3 separate regions of the Homo sapiens genome follow, and all the other regions are linked to region 3. The links are contacts of gene promoters, found by promoter capture Hi-C in blood cells and fetal thymus (Javierre and others, 2016). All regions are on one chromosome and are shown on one strand. Each heading gives the region's core, a stretch centred on a gene start or on the middle of the fragment in contact. The rest is flanking DNA. Distances are from core to core; before and after follow the strand shown. Region 1 overlaps USP37 (ubiquitin specific peptidase 37). Region 2 overlaps USP37 (ubiquitin specific peptidase 37). Region 3 holds the start of CXCR2 (C-X-C motif chemokine receptor 2).

Region 1 (4,180 bases), core at 1,471-3,970, 350 kb after region 3:
TTGCCCAGGATGAAGTACAATGGTGCAATATCGGCTCACTGCAACCTCCTCCACCTCCTGGGTTCAGGCAATTCTTCTGCCTCAGCCTCCCAAGTAGCTGGGATTACAGACATGCAACATCACACCCGGCTAATTTTGTATTTTTGGTAGAGATGGGGTTTCACCATGTTGGTCAAGTTGGTCTTGACCTCCTGATCTCAGGTGATTCACCCACCTCAGCCTCCCAAAGTGCTGGGATTACAGGCATGAGCCACCGTACCCAGCCCAGCCTGAATCTCTTAATTAAAAGCACATTTTCCTACATAACAATTATCACATCTAAGAATATTAACAGTAATTCTATTTATAATTCCAATATATAGCCCACATTCTCATTTCTCCAGTTGTTTCCAAAATATTTTTTGTAGAATTTTTTCTAACCTAGACTCCTAAGGTTACTCACTACATTTGGTTGTCAGGTCTCTTTAGTCTTTAGTCAGGGCCAGTTTTTCTTCTAAAGCCTCCCATTATGGATTTTTCTAGTGTTCTTTTAAGTACAGGCTGTTTTTTTCCCCATACCCCAGAGCCTGGAGACAGGGTGGGTTTCCTCTTTACTACCCACTGCCATTTCCAACTACTCTGTCTCCTTTCAGGCTATAAAAACTGTAGCTCCCTTGAAGTGCATGATATAGGACATTGCCACATATTACCTCTTCCTGTAGCTGTCCCTTTGTTAATTTTAGGAAGTTATAGGACTGGGCAAAGAACTGAAAAGGAGAGCAGAAAGCAGGAAATAAATCAGGAAGGGACAAAAGCACTAATATTAACCAGGGATACCTAAGGGCAGTGATTATAAATGTAGTAAGGGGACTGCATAATGATACTTGTATCAAGAAGGAAAAAAGTAATGCCTGTGTATAAAAACCATCACGTTTTTGCTTCCAGTTAAATGGGGATATACTAATTCTTATTTTACTTGCATGCAAAATAATTCATAATTGAAGAGGTTCCAACTATGAGAATGTAGAAAATAATTTCCTGATATTCTAGTATTCTCTTCATTTCCAAAATCCTATGGCTGGTGTACCTGAAACACATTAGCAATATATAGTTGTCTAGATCTTGGGGCTATCAAGAGAGAAAAATTTGAACTGGTCATAGGAAAAGATAGTAAAAGTTATCTACCTAAAAATTTCAAAACACCCACAGTACAAGGCAGGATGGCTCAGCTCTGTTGTTCCCACTGATAGCTTTAGATAACAAAAAATGAGTAAAAATTACCAAAAAAATAGTATAGCATTTTATGTACAGTCATGTGTTGCTTAATGATGAAGACACATTCTAAGAAATTGCATGGTTAAGTGATTTCGTCTTTGTGCGAACATCTTCGAGTATATTCAACACAAACCTAGATGGTATAGCTGACTATACATCTAGGCTACATGGCATAGCTCCTGGGCTATAAACCTGTAAAGCATGTTACTGTACTGAGTACTGTAGGCAACTGTAACACAATGGTAAGTAGTTGTGTATCTAAATACATCTAAACATAGAAAAAGCAATGCATTGTGCAGGGAATGGAGAACTTGAATTATTTATACCCTAACACCTGGTGTAAATTCAGATATAGGAAAATGAAAGAATTATATGAATTTCTGAAATAGCAGTGGTGAGAAAAGCACCTCAGAACTGACACAAACATATATTAAATGCACATAAGAAGGCTAGTTTTACTAGTGATGTATACCTAAAGGGATATGGCATACTTTACCACTAGTATCTGTGTACTAGTCACAATATTTGCTTCTCATTTTTCAAAGCTTTTTATAATACAGAATGAAAATGCCATCAACCCTGTTATATACAGATCCACTTCACCTCCCTTTATTTGTTTTTATCTGAGAAGGAGTCTCACTCTGTCGCCCAGGCTGGAGTGCAGTGGTGCAATCTTGGCTCACTGCAACCTCCGCCTCCCGGTTCAAGCGAATTCTCCTGCCTCAGCCTCCCGAGTAGCTGGGATTAGGGTCACACACCACCATGCTCAGCTAATTTTTCTATTTATCTCCCGTTATTTGGAGGTTATTTGTCACTACAAAACTTTGAAAGAGTTATGTTTTGTTTCACAGAGGTTTAATCTTCATTAAACCTACCCAGCTCTGTGATTGTTTTGGGCTTCTCAGTTTCCATAGTGTCTGGATTTTCTGGCATTTCTTGAATATCATCTTCTGCAAATCCGGTATCTGGGCTGCTAGTTGGCTTATCATCATCTTCATGACTCAGAGATGGTGAAGCATCTCTCTTACTTATCTCCAAGACAGCTGCTAGAAGCTCTTCTTCGCTCATTCTGTCAAATCCTGAGTTTTCCAATTCAGACTTGTCAGGCTCTATTGGGCATAATTTTGAATCCTGAAGAAGAGAGTTACTTTTAGAAGAAACCAGAATACCTACAAATATAGCAATCTTAATTAGTATTTAAAGTAGCAACTTTATTTCTAAAAAGTTTCCTTTCTTTGATGCTTTGGGTTATTTAACAATCAATAACCAATATATAAACTAAATGGTGAGTCTAACTTTAAAAATAATAAATACATAAGAATACATTATTTTTTCTTGATTGAAATAAGTATATATTTTGTACAAATTTGGAGAATACATAAAAATAATAAAATAAATTCATTCAAAATAGATTACTCAGAGATAATTACTCTAAGTATTTTCAATTTATTTTCTTCCAGATATATATAGATTATACAGTAAATATTCTATCATTATGCCTACTACACCATTATAAATGTTAGCTGATCTTATTAACAATAAATGAGAAAAATAAACACGACATCAAGATTATGTAAAGAAGGCTGGGCGAGGTGGCTCACGCCTGTAATCCCAGCGGTGGATCACCTGAGGTCAGGAGTTTGAGACCAGCCTGGCCAACATGGCGAAAACCCGTCTTTACTAAAAATACAAAAATTAGGCTGGGCGTGGTGGCTCATGCCTGTAATCCCAGCACTTTGGGAGGTCGAGGCCAGCAGATCACTTGAGGCCAGGAGTTCGAGATCAGCCTGGCCAACATGGATAAACTCCATCTCTACTAAAAATACAAAAAAATTAGCCAGGCATGGTGGCACGCACCTGTAGTCCCAGCTACTAGGGAGACAGAGAATCGCCTGAACCTGGGAGGTGGAGGATGCAGCAAGCTAAGATCACACCACTGCACTCCAGCCTGGGTGACAGGGCAAGAGTCTGTCTCAAAAATAAATAAATAAATAAATTAAATAAAAAACCAAAACCCAAAAATTAGGGAGATGTTGTGGTGTACGTCTGTAATCCCAGCTACTCAGGAGGCTGAGGCAGGAGAATCACTTGAACCTGGGGGATAGAGACTGCAGTGAGCCAAGATCGTGCCACTGCACTCCAGCCTGGGCAACAGAGTGAGACTCCGTCTCAAAAAAAAAAAAAGATTATGTAAATATTCAAAAGTTGTTTTCTGGGAGAATTTTGGACTTTCACACATTTCTCATTCAAGTTGAACAACCACAAACTACCTCTGGCTTTAAAGTAAGATAGGAAACAGAACAAAAATAACTACTAAAATAATTCTATTATTTAAAAGGGAGGCTTAAAATAAAATACAGTAGCATAAGATAATGCAAACACCTAGAAAAGCTTAGATCTTCAAAGTATTAACTATCCATATAATTATCTATATATTAATCCAATTAATAAATCCATAATTTAAACAATTAGATTACTTGGTTGCTCTGTTGATGTAAAATGTTTACTACAGTTCCCTCACATAAACAATTGCTACAGGCTGGGAGTAGTGGCTCATGCCTGTAATCCCAGCACTTAGGGAAGCTGAGGTGGTAGGATCACCTGAGCCCAGGAATTTTAGACCTGCCTAGGTCACACAGTAAGACCTTGTCTCTACAAAAAATTTTAAAAACTAGCCAGGCATGGTGGTACATGCCTGTAGTCCCAGCTACTTGGGGAGCTGAGGTAGGAGGATTGTTTGAGCCCAGGAGAACGATGCTGTGGTGAGCCGTGATTACACCACTGTACTCCAGCCTGGGCAACAGAGCGATACCCTGTCTTAAAAAACTGCTACCAAAATAAAGCAAGTAATTATTTGAGGACGAATATGCAAAAGTAGCTTTGAAGGGCAAAAAAAGAAAGTAATTTGTTTAGAACAACGAATTTC
Region 2 (4,262 bases), core at 1,717-4,216, 330 kb after region 3:
AAAAATAAAACTGGAAATTTAGTAAGCAGAACCAAAGAATAGGCAGGAGAAAAAGTAAAATAAAATTGATATGGATAAGGCCTTCACAATTCCATTTCATGCCTGTATTTTATTTAAAAAGCAGCTCACTCATTTGATCTTAACCCTTTGAATGCTGATTTTTAAGAATAGAGGGGAACTGACAACAGTTAGCTTTAATGAACATGCTAGGTAATTCCCATCCATATAAATCAGATCTTCTAGCTGATAAAACTGGATGACCAAAACTATTTATGACAGGACATCTTCTATCATAAAACAAACTGTCTTAACTTCCATACCTAGATACAACTGTGTAATGAGCAATTAATGCTGAGTTATGAGAGAAAATATTCTGGACTTACAAGGAAATATCAAGAGATAGACCCTAACCAAAGATGATAAAAACCAAAAATTTTCAACCAATCAACTGATGGAAACATTTTATCCTCAAAGGAAAAAAAAAAAAAAAAAAGAGTTCCGGTGATTTCTAACTCATTATTTAGAATCTGGCAAAGTTTCTTACTTGTGCATATAAAAGAAGATGTAGCCACTCCGATCTCGATCACTCTGCACGGCAGCCTCTTGGATTTTTGATACCTCCAGGTCATTGTAAGTAAACCACGCTTGCTTCTTAATGTCATATACATCACTAATGTAATGACCTGAAACAAATAACATCTTAAAATCAAGGTTTTTAAAAACACACCGAAGCTGGGCGCGATGGCTCACGCCTGTAATCTCAGCACTTTGGGAGGCTGAGGCAGGCGGATCACGAGGTCAGGAGTTTGAGACCAGCCTCACCAACATGGTGAAGCCCCGTCTCTACTAAAAATACAAAAATTAGCCAGGCATGGTGGCGTGCGCCTGTAGTCCCAGCTACTCAGGAGGCTGAGGCAGGAGGATTGTTTGAACCCAGGAGGTGGAGGTTGCAGTGAACCGAGATAGCACCACTGCACTCCAGCCTGGGTGACAGAGTGAGACTCCATCTCAAAAAAATAAACAAAAACGCATTAATTTTATCTCAGGTGCAGGAAGTTTGAGAAAGAAAAAAAGCTACCACATTCACCTTATCCTCAACACTGTGTCTAAAACCCATTGAAGAAACATACAGGCCAGGCACAGTGGCTCACTCCTATAATCCCAGCACTTTGGGAGGCCAAGGCAGGAGGACTGCTTGAGGCCAGGAGTTTGAAACCAGCTTGGGCAACAAAGCAAGAACCCGTCCATACAAAAAATTTAAAAAAATTAGTCAGGTGTGGTGGCATGCACGTGTAGTCGCAGCTACTCAGCAGGCTGAGGGAGGAGGATCTCTTGAGCTCCTGAGCCCAGGAATTCAGTGCTGCAATGAGCTAATGATGGTGCCACTGCACTCCAGCCTGGTGACAGAGTGAGACCCTGTCTCTTGAAAAAAAAAAAAAGAAAAAAGAAGAAAAAAATATTTGTATATACACAGAGAATCAAGGAGGCATATGCTACACTGGTACACCATTTTTGATTAATGTATTTTGTTCAGGGGAATTTAGGTCACTTATGAATTGAGAAATCAAAACAGTTACACCTATTAACACAATGCACATTGAGTGTGATCAAAGTAGATTTCAAAGATTTTCTTGAAAAACTTATACTTCGTGGGCTGGGCATGGTCGCTCACGTCTGTAATCCCAGCACTTTGGGAGGCCAAGGTGGGTGGATCTCTTGATCCCAGGAGTTCAAGACCAGCCTGGCCAATATGGTGAAACCCCATCTCTACTAAAAATGCAAAAATTAGCTGGGCGTGGTGGTGCATGCCTGTAATCCCAGCTACTTGGGAGGCTGAGACAGCAGAATCACTTGGACCCAGGAGGTGGAGGCTGCAGTGAGCCGAGATTGTGCCACTACACTCCATCCTGGGCAACAGAGTGAGACTGGATCTCAAAAAAAAAAAGAAAAAGAAAAAGAAAAACACACTTCACAAAGCTAGGCAAAGAGCAATATAATAAAGAGCAAATGCTGACTAGTTCATTTATAAAATGCTGAAATCATGATGGCTATTCACCTGAAGAAGAAGTGCTACCAATGTGACTGACAACACTGATGAGCCGGTACGAATGAGGCAGATTTCCTGTCTGGAAAACAGAAGTGGGTATAACTTTTAAGTCTTCATTTGAATAAAAGCAAAACACTGAATATAAATTTATTATCAAAGCTGACATGGCTAAGCTTTGGTATGTGGCATAGTAAGAATCAATTAAAAAATCTGTTCATACCCTTTGACCCAAGAATTCCACCCTCAACTAAGAATTTATTCTAAGGAAATAAGTCAAAAGAAGAGTATATGTATCAAATTATTTACTGTGGCATTATCTGGTGAAAAGCTGGAACCAACAATATATCCAATAATAGCTAACTGGTTAGTATATCAATTCAATATAATAATGTTCAGTTATATAAAAAAACTACATGGATCAGGAACATGTTAACCTTTTTTCCAAACCCATATGAATGCACATAGTAACTATAACTCTATTAAAAAAATGTTACGTTAAGAGTTAGGCATTGGACAATAGAACAAAAATGTTAAAAAGAGTTGCTATGTTGCTGTAGGGATCAGAGTGAACTTTTATATTTTAAAAAATATGATTAAAATATTTTTGGTAAAATAAAGCAAAACTGAAAAAGTGATATTCATGCACTGCAGACAGCACTATAAGGTAAAATTTGGGGAAGGAAGGCCAGGCGTGGTGGCTCACGCCTGTAATCCCAGCACTTTGGGAGGCCAAGGTGGGCAGATCACGAGGTCAGGAGATTGAGACCATCCTGCCTAACACAGTGAAACCCTGTCTCTACTAAAAAAACACAAAAAATTAGCTGGCGGGCGCCTGTAGTCCCAGCTGCTCGGGAGGCTGAGGCAGGAGAATGGCATGAATCCAGGAGGTGGAGCTTGCAGTGAGCTGAGATCGGGCCACTGCACTCCAGCCTGGGCGACAGAGCAAGACTCTGTCTCAAAAAAAAAAAAAAAGAAAAGAAAAGAAAAGAAAAAAAAAATTGGGGGAAGGAATATGGCTATATGTAAACCAGAAACTTAAAATGTTCATAAACTTCGATTTAGTAATTTACTTCTGGAGAATATAAAAGGAGAAATTCTAAAATATAGAAAATGCATGAGCCAAGAGCACACGCCACTGCACTCCAGCCTGGGTGACAGACAGACCTTGCCTAAAAAAAAAAAAAAAAAAAAAAACAACTCTATGTTTGGCCAGGTGCAGTGGCTCAGGCCTGTAATCCCCATACTTTGGGAGGCAGAGATGGGTGGATCCCTCAAGGCCAAGAATTTGAGACTGGCCTAGCCAACATGGTGAAATTGCATCTCTACTAAAAATACAAAAATTAGCTGGGCATAGTGGCTCATGCCTGCAATCCCAGCTACTCAGGTGGCTGAGGCACAAGAATCGCTTGAGCCCAGGAAGTGGAGGAAGTTGCAGTGAGCTGAGATCGTGTCACTGCACTCCAGCCTGGGTGACAGAGCGAGACTCTGTCTCAAAAAAATTAAAAAATAAAATAAAATAAAATAAGGAAAATGCTATAAGCATACAGTTTCCCAACTTATTATCATAGTGAAAAATTAAAAACAACTTAGACAAATACTCAATGTTAGCTAAAAGTTAAATAAGTAGGATATTTATTTGAGGCAATATAGTACAGCCATTAAACATAAGCTTATAAATAACTACTCTTTAAGAAACAGGATAACCTGGGTGTGGCAGTGTGTGCCTCTAGTTCCAGCCATTTGGAAGGCTGAGGCAGGAAAATCCCTTGAGCCCAGGAGTCTGAAGCCAGCCTGGGCAACACAGTGAGACTCTGTCTCTAGAACAAAAAAGCAAATGAAATAAAAACTATACTTACGACTTTTTAAAAAGTATACATGGAGGTGAGAATAACAAAGAAATATGTCAAAGTGCTGAGAGTAATTGTGTTAGGATGGTAGGATCCTGGATAATCAAAATTTGAGGAGAAAAAGCAATTATTTAAGGGGGGAAAAAGGGTTAAAAAAAAAAAAACAGTTCAATGTGCCCTAATTAACATCACCAATTCAATAGTTTTCAGTGAGGAACAACCGTTTTTGGTATTTAATTATAAAGATGATACAGTTATTCAGTGTAACTAAAGGTAATTTTTTCCCCCCGAGATGGAGTTTCGCTCTTGTTGCCCAGGCTGGAGTACAATGGCATAATCTTGGCTCACTGCAACCTCCTCCTCTTCCC
Region 3 (4,350 bases), core at 1,776-4,275:
TAGTTTTTCTTTACGATATATACCCTCCAGAAATTTTTTCATTCATATCCTGAATTGGTTTTTTTAAATTTCTTTATGTTGGTTTTTACTTTTCTCTGGTATCTCCTTAAGTAATTAATGATCAACCTTCTGGGCCGGGCACAGTGGTTCACATCTGCAATCCCAGCATTGTGGGAGGCCGAGGCAGGCAGATCATTTCAGGCCAGGAGTTCGAGACCAGCCTGGTCAACATGGTGAAACCCCATCTCTACTAAAAATACAAAAATTAGTTGGGCATGGTGTCACATGCCTGTAATCCCAGCTATTCAGGAGGCTGAGGCAGGAGAATCACTTGGGCCCGGGAGGCAGAAGTTGCAGTGAGCCGAGATCACACCATTGCACTCTAGCCTGAGCAACAAGAGTGAAAATCTGTCCCAAAATATTATTAATAATAATAATAACAATAATAATAATAATAATAATCAACCTTCTGAATTCTTTGTCTGGTATTACAAAAATTTCATCTTGGTTTGGATTTATTGCTGGAAAGTTAGTGTGATCTTTTGGGGGTGTTACAGAACCCTGTTTTGTCATATTGCCAGAATTACTTTTCTGGTTCCTTCTCATTTGGGTAGACTATTTCTTCAAGTTATTCTTGAATTTATTTTTGATTTGACTTTTTTTTTTTTTTTGAGATGGAGTTTCGCTCTTGTTACCCAGGCTGGAGTGCAATGTCTGATCTCGGCTCACTGTGACCTCCACCTCCCCGATTCGAGTGATTCTCCTGTCTCAGCCTCCCGAGTAGCTGGGATTACAGGCATGTACCAGCACACCCGGCTAATTTTGTATTTTTAGTAGAGACAGGATTTCTCCATGTTGGTCAATCTGGTCTTGAACTCCTGACCTTAGGTGATCTGCCAGCCTCAGCTTCCCAAAATGCTGGGATTACAGGCGTGAGCCACCACGCCCAGCAACTATGTTTTTTTTTTATTTCTTTTTCTTCCCTCTTAAGGATCTGACTTTAATATTTATAGTTTATTTTAGCCTAATTTGATCCTTGGTTTTTAGGAGTGAAGACTTTTGGATTTTAGGAGTGAAGACTCTGTATGAGTTCGTTAGTTAGAGACAGTCCTTGTGTGCTGGCTTTCCCAGATCCTGGTTGTAGCAGTTACGTACTTGGTGTGTGGGAAGGTTTACTGTCTCCTACAGGGTTGGAATGGCAGGAATCTCTTTAAGCTTACCTCATTCTCTCGTGGGGTACTCTTTATTTATTTATTTAATTTTTCCCCAGTATTTTACTTACTGAGTTGATTCAGGCTTTGGACCAGTAGGGGAAGTATCCCTGGGTAGGCACCAGATGTAGCTAAAGTAGGTGGGTAGGCACCGGTTGTAGCTAAAGCAGGTGGGCAGAGATCCCAGCCTTGATGAGAGTGCCTGGGAGAGCTCTCAATTAGATGTGCTGAGGTTTTGTCAGGGTGAAGGGTAGGAGCTACCTCAGGTCCCCCACTAGGCCAGCTGGAAAGCTATCCACCTCCCAGCTTCACTCCTTTCCCAGTGTTCCAGCTATTCAGATCAGACAGGCAGTTATTTTCATCTGTAGAAATGTTGATGTTCCAAGTAGAGAGGAATTGTGACTGCCTGTCATGCAAACCTGAATCTGGGGAGTGCTCCTCCCGTGGGGATGCAATCACCCTGATTTGTTCCAGGAAGGCTGTCTATAGGTGCATCAATGCTGCGTTCCTTTGGGAGAAGCCCCAGCTCTGTCTGCAGTGGCGTACCAGGGGGAACAAGGATCCCTTCTCTAAGACCCTTCACAATACCAGAGGCTGCCTGCCTATTGGGTAGAGGTGCAAACTTTCCCCCACTCTGCCCAGCACAGCAATTGTCTCTGCAATAGGAAACTTCCCACCAGTGAAAAGATCTGGGACTCAAGCCCTGCCATTCAGATTCTTTTGTTCCACAGGGTATTCCCTTGATGTGATGTTCTTCCCCTTCCTCTAGGAATGGGACTTCCTGGAAGCCAGACTACAGTGCTCTTCTGGGTCTAGCCACCCAGTGGGCCTACCAGACTCTGGGCTGGTGCTAGGGAATGTCTGCAAGGGATCCAGTGGTGTTACCTGTCTTCAAGACTCCCAGCAGTGAATACCAGCACCATCTCTGACAGAAGTGGGAGGGGAGTGATGCAAACTCTGCAAGATTCCTTGGTTGTAGATAGACTTAGAGTATTGACTTTCTCAAATGCTGGTTATAATTATAGTGAACTTATCACGTGGACAGACGCAGGACTTCTGGTTAGCCAGGGTGTTGTAAGCAGTGGTGATAGCTGAGAATATGCAGCCGTTTTCTCCTTCCTGGGTACAGTGCTATTCTGCCTAGAGGTGAGTTTTTGCCTGTCTCACAGAGTAGGCTGCAGCCTGCCACTTCTTTCAAAAGTTCTGTGGATTCTTTCAGCTTTCCTGTTCAGTTCCTGCATTCGTTCCTGGAGAAAAAAAAATTATAGTGTGAATCTCTACACGCTATTCTGTCCTTCCAGATGGGAGAGGCATGCTAATGCTGCCTCCAATCTGTTGTCTTGGGGGGAAAGAAAGCAATTTGTTTTTGTTTTTTTTTTTAATGGATTTGCTGGGTTTAGTAACCCAGAGGTCATTGGGAACCTTGGCGAAAGTTATTTCAGTGGAGCAGTAGGAAGGAAGCCAGTTGCAGTGTCTTTGTTGAGCAGCAGAGGGGAGGTGAGGAAGTGGAGAGAGCAGCTGTGGTGGCTGAAGGGTGCTAGGACAGAGGGAGCATGATAAAGCCATAAGTAAGATGTGGTAGAAGGGAAAGAGCCAGGACAGAGGGGAGAGAAAGCAGGATCCTCAAGGACCAGAGAGGCAGTGGGTCCCACAGTCAGGTGCGGGGATTCAACAGAAACAGAAGGAGGGACGCTTCTCACTCTGACCCCGGAAAGAAGGAAGAAACTGCGTGCGAGTTCAGACAAGTCCGTTGGCGGGGGCTGGGATGCCTGCATCTTCCTTGTTAAAAAAGGAAGTGCAGGTTCAAAACATTCAGAGACAGAAGGTGGATAGACAAATCTCCACCTTCAGACTGGTAGGCTCCTCCAGAAGCCATCAGACAGGAAGATGTGAAAATCCCCAGCACTCATCCCAGAATCACTAAGTGGCACCTGTCCTGGGCCAAAGTCCCAGGACAGACCTCATTGTTCCTCTGTGGGAATACCTCCCCAGGAGGGCATCCTGGATTTCCCCCTTGCAACCCAGGTCAGAAGTTTCATCGTCAAGGTTGTTTCATCTTTTTTTTCCTGTCTAACAGCTCTGACTACCACCCAACCTTGAGGCACAGTGAAGACATCGGTGGCCACTCCAATAACAGCAGGTAGGTGACTTGTTCAGTCTGAGATGCTGGCAACATATTTCTAATGGAAGAGATCTGGAAACTTCAGCCTCCTCTGAGGCCCCTGAGAACTGGGGTGATGAAGTGTAGAAGCTTAGAGCTAAAGACAACTAAGTCTTCACCTAGACAGTGTTGCACAAAAGAATTTTCTGCAATAATAGAAATGTCCTAGACCTGCCCTGCCCAGTATGGTAGCCACTAGTCACACGTGGCCACGGAGCACTTGAAATGTGACTAGTGTGACTGCGGATCTCAATTTTTATTTCATTTTATTTTATTTTATTTTTTCTTTTTTGAGACAGGCTCTCACTCCAATGCCCAGGCTGGAGTGCTGTGGCATGATCTTGGCTCATTGCAACCTCAACCTACAGGTCTAGGTGATTCTCCCACCTCAGCCTCCCAAGTAGCTGCAGCTACAGGCATGTGCCGCTACACTCAGCTAATTTTTTGGGTTTTGTTTGTTTGTTTGTTTTGTTTTTGTTTTTGTAAAGACAGGGTTTCGTCATGTTGCCCAGGCTGATCTCAAACTCCTGGGCTCAAGCGATCCGCCCACCTCGGCCTCCCAAAGTGCTGGGATTACAGGCATGGGCCACCTTGCCTGGCCTTTATTTTAATTAATTTTAATTTAAATAGCTACACATGGCTAGTAGCTAGCATGCTGAACAGAATAGAATTAGAAGAAGCTCCCGTTTTCCAAAGGCACACAACAAGGCCCAGAAAGAATGACTTCTCCAAGCAGGATTAGAAGCCAGGTTTTTGTTTTGTTTTTGTTTGAGACAGGGTTTTGCTCTGTCGCCCAGGCTGGAATGCAATGGCACAATCTCGGCTCACTGCAACTTCTGCCTCCCGAGTTCAAGCAATTCTTATGCCTCAGCCTCTGGAGTAGCTGGGATTACAGGCGTGCGCTGCCACGCCTGGCTAATTTTTGCATTTTTAATAGAGGCGGGGTTTCACCATGTTGGCCAGGCTGTTCTGTAACTC

Evidence for each region. Contacts are between HindIII fragments. The CHiCAGO score rates a contact against its expected background, and 5 or more counts as called.
Region 1: a contact is called between a fragment that was not itself captured here and the fragment with the promoter of CXCR2 in region 3, in 1 of 17 cell types (neutrophils). The highest score is 5.5, in neutrophils.
Region 2: a contact is called between a fragment that was not itself captured here and the fragment with the promoter of CXCR2 in region 3, in 1 of 17 cell types (neutrophils). The highest score is 5.1, in neutrophils.

Annotation. Positions count from the first base shown.
Region 1 is chr2:218,472,501-218,476,680 of GRCh38, forward strand. It overlaps USP37 (ubiquitin specific peptidase 37), which reads right to left. Exons shown (of 26, transcript NM_020935.3): 20 at 2,130-2,385. Among named protein-coding and RNA genes, the nearest start is that of VIL1, 55 kb to the left of the region's middle. The HindIII fragment of the contact is 1,846 bases long and covers 1,798-3,643 here.
Region 2 is chr2:218,455,036-218,459,297 of GRCh38, forward strand. USP37 (ubiquitin specific peptidase 37) reads right to left here. Exons shown (of 26, transcript NM_020935.3): 24 at 2,057-2,126; 25 at 545-683. Among named protein-coding and RNA genes, the nearest start is that of VIL1, 38 kb to the left of the region's middle. The HindIII fragment of the contact is 1,496 bases long and covers 2,219-3,714 here.
Region 3 is chr2:218,123,003-218,127,352 of GRCh38, forward strand. CXCR2 (C-X-C motif chemokine receptor 2) reads left to right here and starts at 3,026. Exons shown (of 3, transcript NM_001557.4): 1 at 3,026-3,351. The HindIII fragment of the contact is 2,247 bases long and covers 1,214-3,460 here.